Linked DNA regions of Homo sapiens: all the other regions are linked to region 2. The links are contacts of gene promoters, found by promoter capture Hi-C in human tissues and cell types (Jung and others, 2019). All regions are on one chromosome and are shown on one strand. The core of a region is centred on a gene start or on the middle of the fragment in contact, and the rest is flanking DNA. Distances in the headings are between cores, read along the strand shown.

Region 1 (2,700 bases), core at 129-2,628, 250 kb after region 2:
GCATGAACCTGGGAGGAGAAGCTTGCAGTGAGCTGAGATTGTGCCACTGCACTCCAGCCTGGGAGACAGAGCAAGACTCCAACTCGGAAAAAAAAAAAAAAAAAGAATCTTTTCTTTTTTTTAGAGATGGAGTTTTGCTGTTGATGCCCAGGCTGGAGTGCAATGGCACAATCTCGGCTCACTGCAACCTCCGCCTCCCAGGTTCAAGCGATTCTCCTGCCTCAGCCTCAGTAGCTGGGATTACAGGTGCAAGCCACCATGCCCAGATGTTTTTTGTATTTTTCAGTAGAGACGGGGTTTCTCCATGTTGGCCAGACTGCTCTCAAACTCCTGACCTCAGGTGATCTGCCTGCCTTGGCCTCCCAAAGTCCTGGGATTACAGGCGTGAGCCACTGCGCCTTGCCAACTTAAAGAATCTTAATACAAAAATTGGTACAAGAAATAGCATCTTAAGTGAAAGACCTTCAAACAAAATACAGAAAAAGTTAAGCAGCAAGGAGATCTTTGAGGACTCCCCCAGCCCATAGAAACTGTTTAGCAGTTCTTGAGATTAGAATAGGAAGAACAGGTTTGAAGAAGTGGTAATAAGTTCAGTTTTGGACGTATTACAACACAGCGAGACCCCCATCTCTACAAAAAATTAAAAAATTTAGCCGGGTGTGGTGGTATGCACCTGTAGTCCCAACTACTTGAGAGCCTGAGGCAGGAGAGTCACTTGAGCCTGGAAGATCAAAGCTGCAGTGAGCTATGACTGCACCACTGCACTCCAGCCTGGGTGAAAGAGCAAGACCCTGTCTCAGAAACCAAACCAAACCAAATAAACAACAACCACAAAACAGGGGAGGAGATAAAATTACTATCTTCACGGACGTTTTATTATTTGATCATATGAGGAACTAGTTAGGAGGGACAGGGATTTCTGTTTTGTTCATTCACTGATATATCCCAAGTGTCTAGAACAATGTTTGGAATGTACAAACTCAACAAATTTGTTGAATAAACTTCCATTCCTGTAGAATTAAAGCCAGATTGTTTTCACTGAGGAAAGAGTTAAAGAATAAAATGCAGAACGCACAGACCACAGATCAGCTATAGGAAGTCAGGAGGGGGCCAGGGAACAGTAGCTCACGCCTGTAATCCCAGCACTTTGGGAGGCTAAGGAGGGGCGGATTATTTGAGGCCAGGAGTTCAAGACCAGCCTGGCCAACATGGCAAAAACTCGTCTCTACTAAAAATACAAAAATTAGCCAGGCGTGGTGGCGTGACTCTAGTCCCAGTTACTTGGGAGGCTGAGGCACGAGAATCGCTTAAACCCAGGAGGCAGAGGTTGCAATGAGCATAGATTGTGCCACTGCACTCCAGCTTGGGCGACAGAGTGATACTCCATCTCGAAAATGTCAGAACAGACTAATTTGAGTAATAATAAGAAAACTCCAGTTTCCTGCACAGCCAGCTCTGTGTGGGAAAAAGAAAGAAAAAAAGAGGGGGCAGGGGAGAGAGGGAGAGAGAGAGAGAGAGAGAAAGGAAGGGAGCTAGGGAGGGAAAAAGGGAAGAAAAGAAAACAAAAGAAAGTCAGAAGGGCACATCTGTGTAGTGTTGGAGGAAAAAAGGGGAAGGAGGGAATATTCATCAAATACCTATAAAGCAGTGCTTTTGAATCTTTTTTTTTTTTTTTTGCAAACTCTGCCACCCAGATTCAAGCGATTCTCCTGTCTCAGCCTCCTGAGGCTGGGATTACAGGCGTCTGCCACTGCGCCCAGCTAATTTTTGTAGTTTTATTAGACAGGGTTTCACCATCTCTTGAACTCCTGACCTCATGATTCACCTGCCTCAGCCTCCCAAAGTGCTGGGATTACAGGCGTGAGCCACCACACCCGGCCACTTCTGAATCTTTTATGTGCAGCTACATCACCTGATTCAATAGGCCTGGGTGATGAGGCCTGAGATTCTATATATTTTTTTTGAGATGGAGTCTCGCTCTGTCGCCTAGGCTGGAGTGCGGTGGCACAGTCTCGGCTCACTGCAAACTCCATCTCCTGGGTTCAAGCGATTCTCCTGCCTCAGCCTCCTGAGTAGCTGGGATTACAGGTGTGTGCCACCACACCCAGCTAAATTTTGTATTTTTAGTAGAGATGGGAGTTCACCATGTTGGTCAGGCTGGTCTCGAACTCCTGACCTCGTGATCCGCCCACCTCAGCCTCCCAAAGTGCTGGAATTGCAGGTGTGAGCCACTGCGCCTGGCCTCTATACTTATTTTTATTTTATTATTTTTTTTGAGATGGAGTCTCTCTCTGTCACCCAGGCTGGAGTGCAGTGACGCGATCTCGGCTCACTGAAAGCTCCGCCTCCCAGGTTCAAGCCATTCTCCTGCCTCAGCCTCTCCGAGTATCTGGGACTACAGGCACCCGCCACCAGGCCCGGCTAATTTTTTTGTATTTTTAGTAGAGACGGGGTTTCACCGTGGTCTGGATCTCCTGACCTCGTGATCCGCCCGCCTCGGCCTCCCAAAAGTGCTGGGATTACAAGCGTGAGCCACAATGCCCGGCCTTCTCTTTCTATCTTTTAAACGTTTCTGTTTCTCGGGTTTCTGTCTCCAGCCTTCTTTTCTTCTAATAATTTGTTTGGATTATTAGGAGGCTGGAGTGTGGTAGCTCATTCACAGCTCACTGCAGCCTTGACTTTCCAGGCTCAAGCCATCCT
Region 2 (2,700 bases), core at 37-2,536:
TGCGCACCTCCGGCCTTAGCCACCGACAGCAAAGTTCCCAGAGTTGGCTGAAAGCCTCCCGCGGCCCAGCCACCTCCTGGTAATGGAATCTCCTGAAACGCTGTCGGAAGGTCTCAGAGTTAGTGCCATTCTCTCTTAGAGCTGATTTGGCCATCATTAATAGCAGAATGCAGCTTCCCTTCGCTTAGGAGTCTGGGTTCCAGGGCTTACATCTATCTTCCCATGTCCTTGGAGAATCCCCTGCAGATGACTGTAAGAGGTGTTTCTTCCTAGGGCAGAGAAAGATGGCACTATCAGAAGGAATACATTCATATGTCTAAAGTCTTGCCAGAGCTGGCCTGCCTTTCCATGTGCTCCGAGTGGCCTTCTAAGGTAGCACAATCTTCAGTAAATAGACTTTGCAAAAACTGCTTTTCTGGTTGACTTCCAGGGCAGCCCCAGGAAGCAGCAGAGAATAAAAGTACTGTCTGCCCCTCTCCCACCTCCTCCAAATCCGATCCCATTTAACTTCCCTGGCCAATGTTGCACAGTGAGTCCGAACCATATAGGAGAGCTGGAGTTCGAGAGGATCTAAAGACAAGTCACCATCCTGCTTGAAGGCAACAAAAAGCCTCTGTCCAGCTGGTCGCAGCTGATCTCCCCCAGTATCTCCGCAGTCCTTCCCGAGGCCTTCTGCGTCCGCCCCGCCCCCTCGGGCTGCACAACTCCCAAAGCCCACCCCAGGCAAAAATCACGTCCAGAATCTCGGGTCTTTGTTTTCCCCGCGTAGTAGTAGCCGCTCAGCAAGGATTAGGGAGCTACCTGTCGGAAAACCTCGCGCAAGGAGAGAAGCTGGTTTTGGCTCCAAAGCGAGGACCATGGGGGCTTGGGGAGAGTCACATTGGGCAGGAGAGACGGAATCCGAGGAGCAGTAGTAACGGGCTTCCTGAGGACGGGCTCGGGTGTCGGCCAGAGGCTCCAGGTGCTGCCGGTTCGCGGACGCAGAGCTCTCAGCCCAAGGAGCAGCGGCTGCGGGATTCTGGCCTCTTTTGTCTCCGCTCCCTCCGGCCGGGTAACCCGGAGCCGTCGTGCGGTCCCTCCAGAGGCCTCTGACCCGGCTAAGGCGCCCTGAGGGCGCCCTCCAGCCCACCCCTGGGAGCGTCTCCCTCTCGAGCTGCCCCTCAACCCCCTCGCATCCTTGCCTCCGGGCCAGCCTCACCCACTCGGGGTCCGACCCTGACCCCGGCCCCGGCCCCGGCCCCGGCCCCGGCTCTCCAGCCTCCCAAGTACAGCTCCCAAACCGGAAGTCCGAGCGGGCGGCTCGGGGCACCGAGGGCGCATGCGCGAGGGCAGCGACCGCGACTCAGTCTCCGCAGAGCCCGGGCGGGAGTAGCTGGTGGACCCCGTTGAGCTGCCGAACTTCCGGGACTCCCCCGCGACCCCTTCCCAGCTTCCCGTCCGCTCCGCCGCAGCGATTGTCTCGGTGGGTTGATTCGGCACAAACCGCCCGACCCAGGGGCCGGTGCGCGTGTGGAAGGGGAAGCACTCCCCTCGTGGTCGCCTGGAGGTGCGCTGGAGGAGGGGGTGACATAACCAGGGACTCGAGGTCCGCCGTGGGAATGATCCACGAACTGCTCTTGGCTCTGAGCGGGTACCCTGGGTCCATTTTCACCTGGAACAAGCGGAGTGGCCTGCAGGTACTGTCCGGCGCAGAGCGCGGGAACCAGGGAGCGCAGGAGGGGGGACCTGAGCCAGCGCCTGGGGGAGTAGGCTGAGGGACCTAGCGAGCGGGGCTTCCAGGGCTGGGGGCGTATCCCTGGACAGGTGACTGGAGGGCAGCCCCTTAGGGTCAAGGCTGATGCGACACCTAGAGAGGCCGGGCCTAGGCTAGAAAACGGAGGGCAGACCTCGAAGAGCCCCACCTGTGGCGGGGCGAGGAAAGGGCCTGAGGTCCAGGTGTCTGACAGTTGCTGGGGAATGATATAGAAGTGTGGGAGGCACTTTCTCCTATTTATTTTCACACGTGCATTGTTTGAGTTTTGAAGTACTGGGCCAAATACACAGCTCCCAAACACATGGTAAGCGCTCAGTAAAGTTTGTTGAAGGAAATAAATGAAATCGAGAGCGTGTGGTGTTTCCCTCATTACTCCTTTACCAGAAAATTTCTGCACTAGGTAAAGCACTTGGTAGGGGGCCTTTGTGTAACCAGGAATGTATGATGTTCCGTATGCATTATCTTATTTAATCCTCACAACCACCTTATCCATTTTACAGATTAAGCTAGGTTTAGAATAGTTAAATAACTATCGGGGTCATAGCTAGTAATTAACAGAGCTTAGTTTTGAAGCCAGGTCTGTCTGGCTTCAGTATTTGAACTACTTTTACCTGCTTCTGCTTCCAGTAATGTTATCTAATGCTCTCAATAATTTAGTCCACTTAGGTATTGTTTCTACCAGTTAACAAATGAGCAAACTGAAGCTCAGAAAACTTTATGCTGGCCAGTCCTAGTAGTGGCAAGACTGAAATCTAGGTCCGTCTGATCACCAAGACATGCCGATTCTTAGGAGACTGTGGAAGAGCAGAAAAAGTACATTCTTAGTCTATAAAACCTATAAATCAAACAGTTTCCTTTCGTTATTATTTATGAACATGTATTTGGAGTTTGGGAGTTTAGGTGAATTTTTGAAAAAAACAGGTGAAGATTTGTGTGGTGGAGTTTGA
Region 3 (2,700 bases), core at 33-2,532, 160 kb after region 2:
TTTTAGTAGAGATGGGGTTTCACCATGTTGGCCAGGATAGTCTCAATCTCTTGACCTCATGATCCACCCACCTCGGCCTCCCAAAGTGCTAGGATTACAGACAGATGTGAGCCACCACGCCCAGCTGATCTCTATATTTTTATAGTCTATTTTTGGATGCCTGATCTCTGTATTTTTACAGCCCATTCCTGCTCAACTATAATGGCTTTTGACCGATTCAGATTAATCAGTTACAGACACAATTGACTCATAGTCGTATTCCTTTTTTTTTTTTTTTGAGACAGAGTCTTGCATTTTTGCCCAGGCTGGAGGGCAGTGGCGTGATTTTGGCTCACTGCAACCTCTGCCTCCAGGGTTCAAGTGATTCTCCTGTCTCAGCCTCCCGAATAGCTGGGATTACAGGTGTCCACCACCATGCCTGGCTAATTTTTGTGTTTTTAGTAGAGACAAGGTTTCACCATGTTGGCCAGGTTGGTCTCCAACTCCTGACCTCAAATGATCTGCCCGCCTTGGCCTCCCAAAGTGCTGGGATTACAGGTGTAAGCCACCGTGCCCAGCCTATATTCATTCTTGAATTCACAAGGACATCACCATCATCCATCACCACCATTCTCATTAGTTTATATTTATTGAGCACTCATAATGTTCCAGCCCCCGACTCCAATGACCGCATTACCCCTCCTACCCACTCCCATTCCCATCCCTGGATCTTTGGAAAAAGCTTCATAATCATATCTGGCCCTCAGACACAATGATATAAGGACAAATTTCTTGGGGACCCTGCAGTGTTTGGTCTTTGGCCAGTCTGTCCCTGGCACAACTACAGAAATAAATATATATATATATATTTATTAAACCTTTGCTTGTATCTGTACAATATTGATCTCTGCTGATTGCTTAAAATAGAACCTGATTATCTCTACTACTACAGCATCTCCTAAGCCAAACAGCCCCACCACAGAGGAGGCCCACTTTCACAGACTGGCTAAGAATCCTCTAGAGCATTTTAAGTAGTTGCTCTGAATTTTGCACAGCAGTCTAATACCTACTTTTCCCTAGAGCTATTGCCCAGAGGAACAGGACTGAGGCAGAAGGGGCACTTGGGGATGATATGGAAGGATCTATAAGGCAAGTCTAAAGATTTAGTGGCCATGTCAGATGTTTGGGGAAGGGACTCTATTTTCCAGACATTTCAGATAGCCATCCCGGGCTCACCTGAGGAGTGCTGGCAAAGACAAGAGTCCCCTGAATGCACATATGGTCTAAGCGTACCTTGAGAAGTCGTGAACATTTCCCCAGAAAAGTGAAGACCCTAGAGTCCCCTCTTTTGCATTTGCTGTCGCCAGATGGTGTCTTCAGCAGTGAAGCGGCATTTCCTTTAACAATCTGTGATTTCCTAGGATGCTCAGAGAAGGCTGGGTAATGACAGACCAACCCACCCCAAGGAAATCCTATTCAAGTCTAATGGCTAAGTGAGGAGCCAATGGCTTCTTCGAACCTAAAACTGGCTCCTCCTCAACCACAGCTCTGGCACAGGTATGCTTCATACAAAGAGAACTACTTCCCCAGACACCGCTGGTGAGAGCTGGCCAGTGAGTTAGCCAACAGAAAAGGTTGCTGGCTCAAATGGCTGGTATAGTGTGATACCACTAATGAGAAAATTAATCACATGTTGCTGGTGGAAGGGGTGAGTGCTGGTCATGGGCTAGAGACTGGCTCTGAGGGTTTGGATCACCAGATGGATGCTGGGCTTGAGGAATACCCTCTCCAGGCAGCTGATCAATCACTTCAGGGACCACCCAGGACTTCTAATTTATCTCCTCAGGGACCTCCTGGGCCTGCAGATCAATCTCCTCAGGGAACTCTTGGGATGGTTTATCAATCTCAGGGATGCCCTGAGATAACAGATTGATCGCAGAAGTCTCCTGGGCCAGCCTGCCAACCTCCACAGAGAACTCCTGGTATGGCTGGATGACCTCCTCAGGGATCTCTTCAGCTGGGCTGCCAACTTCTACAAGGGTTTCCTGGACCAAGCTACCAACCCCTACATGGAACTTATGGACCAGCTTGCCAACCTCCACAGAGACCCCCTGGCATGGCTGGCTGACCTCCTCGGAGTTCTCCAGACATAGCTGGCAAACTTCCTCAGAGACTTTCTGGCACAGTTGGCTGGACTTCTGGCATGGCTGGCTGATGTGAGGGACCTCCTGGCATGTGTGGTTACCATTGTCATGGTTCTCCTGGCATTGCTGGCTGATGTCAGGGACCTTCTGACATGGCTGGCTGAGCGCCTCAGAAATGTCCTGGCATGGCTGGCTGATGTCAGGGACCTCCTGACATGGCTGGCTGACCTCCTCGTATGGCTGGCTGGTTTCCATAGGTGGCACCTGTGGGGACTGATTTGGTTCAAAAAGCTCTTGCTCCCCTTCTATGGAGAGCTCTTGTGCTCCACTCCCAGGGGTCTCCTGGAGCAGCCCAAGGCCTTGATGTTCTTCAGCCACGTGTGAATTTAGGGAGGGTTGATCACTGAAGCCAAATTGGGAGTTACCATCTACTGTAGTAGGGGAAGAAGGACCAGCACTGGACACAGTGCTAGAAGGGCCACTGCTGTCTGTAAAGCAAAGTCAAGAGATCAAGTTAGAGAAGCTGGAAGAGTAGGCTCTACCCTGTGCAGATAGTTCAAATGCTAGAATTGTTGGC

What was found. Contacts are between HindIII fragments. The study calls those that stand out against the background at their distance.
Region 1: a fragment that was not itself captured here is called in contact with the fragment with the promoter of ZSCAN29 in region 2 in 1 of the 25 tissues and cell types used here (spleen).
Region 3: a fragment that was not itself captured here is called in contact with the fragment with the promoter of ZSCAN29 in region 2 in 1 of the 25 tissues and cell types used here (spleen).

The regions. Positions count from the first base shown.
Region 1 is chr15:43,624,323-43,627,022 of GRCh38, forward strand. No RefSeq gene overlaps it. Among named protein-coding and RNA genes, the nearest start is that of STRC, 6.9 kb to the left of the region's middle. The HindIII fragment of the contact is 5,185 bases long and covers 1-2,700 here.
Region 2 is chr15:43,369,757-43,372,456 of GRCh38, forward strand. ZSCAN29 (zinc finger and SCAN domain containing 29) reads right to left here and starts at 1,287. Exons shown (of 6, transcript NM_001372080.1): 1 at 802-1,287; 2 at 1-269. The coding sequence starts at 157. It overlaps TUBGCP4 (tubulin gamma complex component 4), which reads left to right and starts at 1,345. Exons shown (of 18, transcript NM_014444.5): 1 at 1,345-1,676. The coding sequence starts at 1,599. RefSeq lists a silencer at 986-1,255 and an enhancer at 1,356-1,475. The HindIII fragment of the contact is 7,589 bases long and covers 1-2,700 here.
Region 3 is chr15:43,532,866-43,535,565 of GRCh38, forward strand. It overlaps PPIP5K1 (diphosphoinositol pentakisphosphate kinase 1), which reads right to left. Exons shown (of 32, transcript NM_001394395.1): 32 at 610-2,611. The coding sequence ends at 1,809. Among named protein-coding and RNA genes, the nearest start is that of MAP1A, 17 kb to the left of the region's middle. The HindIII fragment of the contact is 7,344 bases long and covers 1-2,700 here.